Regions from separate parts of the Homo sapiens genome. Here region 1 is linked to region 2. Evidence: promoter capture Hi-C in human tissues and cell types (Jung and others, 2019). All regions are on one chromosome and are shown on one strand. The core of a region is centred on a gene start or on the middle of the fragment in contact, and the rest is flanking DNA. Distances in the headings are between cores, read along the strand shown. Region 1 has its middle 15 kb from the start of RNASEH2C. Region 2 holds the start of PACS1 (phosphofurin acidic cluster sorting protein 1).

Evidence for each region. Contacts are between HindIII fragments. The study calls those that stand out against the background at their distance.
Region 1: a fragment that was not itself captured here is called in contact with the fragment with the promoter of PACS1 in region 2 in 2 of the 25 tissues and cell types used here (IMR-90 fibroblasts and mesenchymal stem cells).

Annotation. Positions count from the first base shown.
Region 1 is chr11:65,734,519-65,737,799 of GRCh38, forward strand. No RefSeq gene overlaps it. Among named protein-coding and RNA genes, the nearest start is that of RNASEH2C, 15 kb to the left of the region's middle. The HindIII fragment of the contact is 9,114 bases long and covers 1-3,281 here.
Region 2 is chr11:66,068,096-66,071,852 of GRCh38, forward strand. It overlaps PACS1 (phosphofurin acidic cluster sorting protein 1), which reads left to right and starts at 2,177. Exons shown (of 24, transcript NM_018026.4): 1 at 2,177-2,747. The coding sequence starts at 2,392. SF3B2 (splicing factor 3b subunit 2) reads left to right here. Exons shown (of 22, transcript NM_006842.3): 21 at 53-238; 22 at 579-1,213. The coding sequence ends at 650. RefSeq lists an enhancer at 30-189 and silencers at 1,737-2,356, 2,367-2,416, 2,567-2,696, 2,707-2,856, 2,917-3,121 and 1 more. The HindIII fragment of the contact is 13,254 bases long and covers 1-3,757 here.

The DNA.
Region 1 (3,281 bases), core at 713-3,212, 330 kb before region 2:
GCCAGGCACAGAGAGACAAATACCACATGATCTCACTTATATGCAAGATCTAAAACTGTCCACCTCATAGCCAGCTGCAGTGGCTCATGCCTGTAATCCCAGTGCTTTGGGAGGCTAACATGAGAGGATTTCTTTTTCTTTTTTTTTTTTTTGAGATGGAGTCTTGCTCTGTTGCCAGGCTGGAGTGCAGTGGCGTGATCTTGGCTCACTGCAACCTCCACCTCCTGGGTTCAAGCGAGTCTCCTGCCTCAGTTTCCTGAGTAGCTGGGACTATAGGCACGTGCCACCACACCCAGCTAATTTTTGTATTTTTAATAGAGACGGGGTTTCACCATGTTGGCCAGGATGGTCTCAATCTCTTGACCTCATGATCCACCCACCTTGGCCTCCCAAAGTGCTGGGATTATAGGTGTGAGCCACTGCACCCAGCTGTGAGAGGATTTCTTGAGGCCAATAGTTTCAGACCAGCCTGGGCAACATAGTGAGACCCCATCTCTACCCCCCCAAAAAAAATTAGTCAGGTGTGGTGATGCACACCTGTAGCTCCAGCTACTGGAGAGGCTGATGCAGGAGGATCACTTGAGCCCAGGAGTTCAAGACTACAGTGAGCCATGATTGTGCCACTACACTCCAGCCTGGGTGGCAGAGTAAGACCCCATCTCTAATACAATACAGTAATATAAAAATGTTGTAGAATGCAAAGTATTGTTCCTGGGTGTGTCTGTGAGGGTGTTGCCAAAGGAGATTAACATTTGAGTCAGTGGACTGGGAGAAGCAGACCCACCCTTAGTCTGGCGTGGCACCATCTAATCAGCTGCCAGCACAGCTAGATTAAAACAGGCAGAAGAACATGGAAGGACTTGACTTGCTGAGCCTTCCGGCTTTCATCTTTCTCCCTTGCTGGATGTTTCCTGCCCTCGAACATCAGACTCCAAGTTCTTCAGCTTTTGGACTCTTGGACTTACACCAGTGGTTTGCAGCTCTCGGGCCTTTGTTCACAGACTGAAGGCTGCACTGTTGGCTTCCCTACTTTTGAGGTTTTGGGTCTTGGACTGGCTTCCCTGATCCTCAGCTTGCAGACAGCCTATTGTGGGACTTCACCTTGTGATCATGTGAATCATTACTCCTCAATAAACTCCCCTTCATATATACATCTATCCTATTAGTTCTGTCCCTTTAGAGAACTCTAATATACCTGTCTAACTGAAACTTTGTACCTTTTGAGCAATATCTTCCCATTTCCCACTCTCCCATGCCCCTAGCCTCTGGTAATCTCTGGATACCTGATCTAAGGGGTCCAACAGGATATTTTCATTTTTCAGGTCATAAGATGGGATGGGTTGAAACCTTGTGCCAGCATCATCTTTATGTGGAATCTAGAAGACATAAACTTAAGTAGGAGGTCAACAGGAAAATTATAATTTGGAGGATGAGAAAATTAATGCATCTATGCCCATGGCATCATGTTTTTTATCTTTGTGTTTGTGAAACAACAGCTTTAAGTCTTATAGGAGCTCACAGGTGTAAATCATGGTGTCCTCCTCTTATGCCGTCAGGGATTCATAAGAAACAGATTTAATCTTGGACAGGTGTACCCAACTAGTGATTCCCTGAAGTTTAACAGCAGGGAAGGTACTTAACAATACCTGATAGGGGCTCTTCCATTTGGGTTGTAATTGATCCTCTGGGGATCCTTTTTAACAAAAAGTTTTTTGTAAGACTAGGTGTTCAGGTTGAACAGAGGAGCTATTTCTTTCCTATGTGGGAAAGGGAAGTACTTTGTTATTATAATTTTTGAAGGGCCTTTGTGCCTAGCCTAAATTCTAAGGGGTGGCACAGTGAGGCATGTTTGGCCCCCTGTTTCCTGTCATGGTCTGACTTCTTTTTTTTTGAAGGCTTCTTTGGAATTCCCTTTGGCTAAGGGACTTAGAGTCAAAAGACTTATAGCCAATTAAACATCCTAGGTCAGAAGGAAATGGAGGTGAGCAGGCACTCATTTGCCCTTAAAATCTTTTAAAGCAATATAAGAGTCAAAAACTAAATGCCAATAATAAGGTTATATGTAAAAAAAAAAAAAAAACAGCATAGAATCAAGCTATATTCGGGGAAAACACTGTTTTCGCAGACCTCTAAGACAAAACATTTTAGTACCAGGGCCCAATAGTCAGAACCAGAGGAAAAAAAGTCACAATGTTGATGAAAAGGTTGATGGAAAGAGCCATCATCCCAGGCCTTCTTAAAGGGAGAAAGAATTGAAAGTAGTGAGACACAACAACAGTTGAATCTCTGAGACATGAATCCAAGACATTTTAAAATAAACCAGGTAGATTATTAAAAGCAAAACTTCCTGTAATTTAGCAAATCAATACCTTAAGAAAACCTGTTGCCAATATATAGACCATTCTCTAGAAAGTCTACCACAGTTTTCCTTTAGTCATAGTCAGCTTAAGCTTAATCATACACAAAATTCCCCTTCACAAACCCCATCATGACCCACATGGACCATCTACAACATGCTTGGACTTTCTGACTTGTCCTATAGGACCCCTTCCTTAAAGAACTCATCATTTTACTCTAGGATAAGAATTTACTACACAAGATCCCTCCTCATATAAAATAACTTTGTATTCTTCCTTGTATCCTTCTTTATATCCTTCCTTGTATCCTTCTTTGTATTCTTCCTTGCAAAAAGTACATCTATCCATAACTTTCTTCATATCTCTCTTTTCTACTTACTGGTTCCTTCATATTTTGAACCTCTCTTTTAATAACTTCCAAATTAGACAAAAATTATTATTTTTCCCAATAAAAAACACACTTTCTTTGGCTTATTTTATATAAATCTAAAGAGCAAGAAATTCTGAACTGCTCATCAGACATTGGCACTCTATAGATGAGAACTATTTCACAGCTTTAAGATTTTCAACTATACATAAGCTCACTGTTTAAAAGCCATCCTAACCATTCTAAAGGCTACAAACATCAGAGGTTCATCTAGGTAAAAATCTTAAAGTTAAATTTTAGAAGACATAACATTCCCTTCAAACTAATAAATTTAGACTAGTCTTATTTTTTAATTTATGAATTCTCTTTTATTTATAAGCCAATTTGATAGTATGCTAAACACAACACCCATCACACAAATGAAGTGACCTACACAAGACAGATGGATCCAAGTTACTTATAAAATTGGGACCTGTCTATCTCAATACATTTTGTTTGCCCAGATACGTAGGGAAGACAGGAAGAGGCAGAGAAGGGACCCCATAGCATCAAATAAG
Region 2 (3,757 bases), core at 927-3,426:
CTAGGGCTTCTCTGACTCTTTGGAGATGACCAGGCCCTGATCTCCTTTCCAGGTTATGAGCCGGAAGGGCCCGGCTCCTGAGCTGCAAGGTGTGGAAGTGGCGCTGGCGCCTGAAGAGTTGGAGCTGGATCCTATGGCCATGACCCAGAAGTATGAGGAGCATGTGCGGGAGCAGCAGGCTCAAGTAGAGAAGGAGGACTTCAGTGACATGGTGGCTGAGCACGCTGCCAAACAGAAGGTAGGCGCTTCCAGGGGCGCTGGGCTGGGTGAGAGCCAGGGACCCTGGCCTGCCGTTTTCAGTGGCATGGTGCCCTCTAGTGGTGAGAGTGAGGGTGGCCTCTGCTTGCTGCTCTGTGCTTCCTTAGATTTGGAAGTCTTAGAAATCCTCCAGTGGGCTGCCCTCTTTAAGGACGATGAGGGGGAGGAACTCAGCCAAGTCTGAGAGGGAGCTCGAAGAGAATTCAGATTCAGCGCCTTTCCCACAGACTTCTATGTCTATGTCAGGCTGCCCACCCTTGTTTTGGGGGTCCGGGGGTGGTTCAACCTGTCTTAACCTGTGTCTCTTTCTCCCTATACAGCAAAAAAAACGGAAAGCTCAGCCCCAGGACAGCCGTGGGGGCAGCAAGAAATATAAGGAGTTCAAGTTTTAGGTCCCCTCACACTAGCCCTTTTTTTGGCCCTACGTCTGGATGCCTGGGCTTCACACAAGAACCACCTCTCCCGCAGTTCCCAAGGACTTGTCATTTCATGTTCTTATTTTAGACCTGTTTTGTAAATAAAGCTGTTTCCCAAGGAAAGAGATGAATATTTAACACTCCTGAGCCTCCCTCATCTCCTTTTAGCCCCTTCTTGCAAAAGGACTAAAATAGTCTCTTTCTACAATCACTGGGCTGCCCCAGTAACCACGAACATAAACTGGGATTAGACGGCGCATTTGACTGGTGGTGACGCCAACCCCAGGCTGAAATCTGTGTTTCACCACTGCCCTGCTTTGTAGGAAGGCTTGGGGGAAGTACCTCTAGGTCTGGTTTGACCTTACTACTTTGTCCTTGGGGAGTAAAAATAGCCAGATTAGCGCCCTAGCGCGGCAGAGGAAGTAACAGTGGGCTTGGGAAGTAGGCCAGGGCAGGCCTTCCCAACTGACCTTGTGACCAGAAGTTCAAGTCCTTACCTGTGCGACAACATAGCTCAAAAGCTAAATTGTCTTGAGTCCATATGAACCCTTGGGTTCAAGCAACACTAGTCGCTGGGGTTTGGGATTTGTATGTGGGATGGGGGGACTTACTTTCTCCAGGTTGTAATCTGGTCCTGAGCAGCCTTTCTGACAGACTAGAGCAGGCTGGATCACTGGCTCCCATGGGCATTTGCCAGCCTGTGGGGAGGGTAGTCATGCGCTGCTGTTGTACTACTGTTGGTGTTTAAGTGCACCAGTGGAGGCGCTCACTTGCCGGAGGGTTCAAGATGGTCTCGGGGTTGTGGGGGGCATGATCCAGATAGGACGTGGCAGCTGAGCTAGGCCTTAGGAGGAATGGAATTTTAGAAATTTGGTAAGCAACAAAGCACTGGCACTCTAAAGAGGCATTTGGGGGGTAGGGAAAGAAGAGGAAGGTTGGCTCCAGATGGGCCCCGGGGTAGCTTGAGAATTCACTTATGCGAAGAACCTTCTGGACTCCAGGTCCCTGAGCCCCCGCTTGCCCTCGGGGCGGGAACTTCCCGGATCACAGGCACCCGCGGTGGCAGCGGGCCCCGGGTCTCCGCCGACCTCTCTGTTTGCCGGGGCCGCAGGGCAGGGCTAGGTCGGCAGGCGGAGAGCCGGCTTCCCCGGGCAGACCCCCACCGCTGGGGGCGGGTTCCGCATTGGCTCCGAAGACCCGAGGGGCCGAGGCGCGCTCCCGCGGCGGCCCCCTCCCTGCAGGGACCGAATCCCGGAAAAGCCGGGTTTCCGCTGGCGGGGCCGCGGCCGGCCGTGGGCGGGGAGGGGAGGAGCGGGGGCAGACTGGCAGCGGATTTGAGGGCAGGACCCGTGGGCGCGCGCTGGCCACAGACCACCCCTTCTACTCCGCGGGAGCGAGGGGCGCGCGTGGCTGCACGCAGGGCGCGAGCGCGCCCGGCCCGGCCCCTCCGCGCTGGGTGGGGCCGCGCGGGCCGGGCTCCCCGCCCCCTCCCGGACACGCCCACCCGTGTCGGCCTCGCGAGCCGCAACAGGCAGCGGCGGTCGAGCGCGAGGCCCGCGCGCCCAGAGGCCCCGCGCGTGCGTGCAGCTCGCTGGCTGCTCGCGCTCGGGCAGGCGGGCTGAGGAGGCTGCCGCGCCCCCGCCGCCGCCGCCGCGGGGGAAGCCTGGGAGCCAGATCGGCGTCGCCTCGGCCTCCGTAACCCCCGCCTAGCCGGGCCATGGCGGAACGCGGAGGGGCGGGCGGTGGTCCCGGAGGCGCCGGGGGCGGCAGCGGCCAGCGGGGATCCGGGGTCGCCCAGTCCCCTCAGCAGCCGCCGCCGCAGCAGCAGCAGCAGCAGCCGCCGCAGCAGCCGACGCCCCCCAAGCTGGCCCAGGCCACCTCGTCGTCCTCGTCCACCTCGGCGGCGGCTGCCTCCTCCTCGTCCTCGTCTACCTCCACCTCCATGGCCGTGGCGGTGGCCTCGGGCTCCGCGCCTCCCGGTGGCCCGGGGCCAGGCCGCACCCCCGCCCCGGTGCAGATGAACCTGTACGCCACCTGGGAGGTGGACCGGAGCTCGTCCAGCTGCGTGCCTAGGTGAGCGCGGGAGGGTGCGGCGGGGCGCCGGGGGAGCGGGGTGGCCGCCGGGGCCCAGCCCTCCCCGCCCCAGCGCCCATGGGGTCCCCGCCCTCCATCTCCCCGACTGTCCCGCGGCCCGGCCTGGCTCCAGCCAGGCCTCCCGGGACTCCTGCCACGGGGACCCGCCCTCTCCTGGCAGCCCCACCTTCTGCCTGGGGCCGGGACCACCCTTCTGTCCTCCCCGAGGGACCTTCTGGCCTCGGCCCCGGGCTTTCTCCGATTGGGCTGACCGAATCCGGCCTTCCTGGCAGTCAGTTTCCCTGAGTAAGTCACTCTCCTGCCTCGCCGGCGCCGGGAGCTGTACATACATGGATGTGGTATAGATCTCTTGATATTATTATTTCCCAATAGACTCAGCATGTGCCAAACTCGATTGTCACCTCTTGCAGGTAAAGCTCATATAATCACCCTAGGGGCTTCTCATTAGCCTTCGGCACACATGTTCATTTGAACTTCATATTACACACGTTCTGTCCCAAGCGCTAGGCTCTTAGTTTTGGGGCCCTATTTAATGTGTCCTCAAGTGTATTTTTACCTCCCCTCCCCCACTAAAACTGGTCCCAGAATCTCCCAGCTCTGCAGGGCTGTATGAAATTACTGCCTTGTTCCTAAATTCAATCCATTGCTCTCTGTCTGTTGGAACCATCTGGGGACTTTCCTTCCATTGGCAAAATAGGCCTGAGTTTGGGAATATTTTCTGTTTTTGTATTGGCAAGGCAGTCTGTCTCCAACTCTGGGGACAGGGTGCTGTGTCTTACAGTTTGCCACTTGAATAAGACGGTGTGTGGAGCTGGTTTCACCCAGAAAGCCCAGAGAAGTGCCTGGAGGTGTTCTTTTTTGTCACCTTGTAGCTGAGTTGATTCTGTTGCCTTGAAGTCTTGGGCTGTCTCCTCACTGTTGGTTAGGCAGACGGATGTGTAAGTCAGAGTTAGAGAGGATTGCTGGGCTCCCCCCTCGACTGTCTTCCT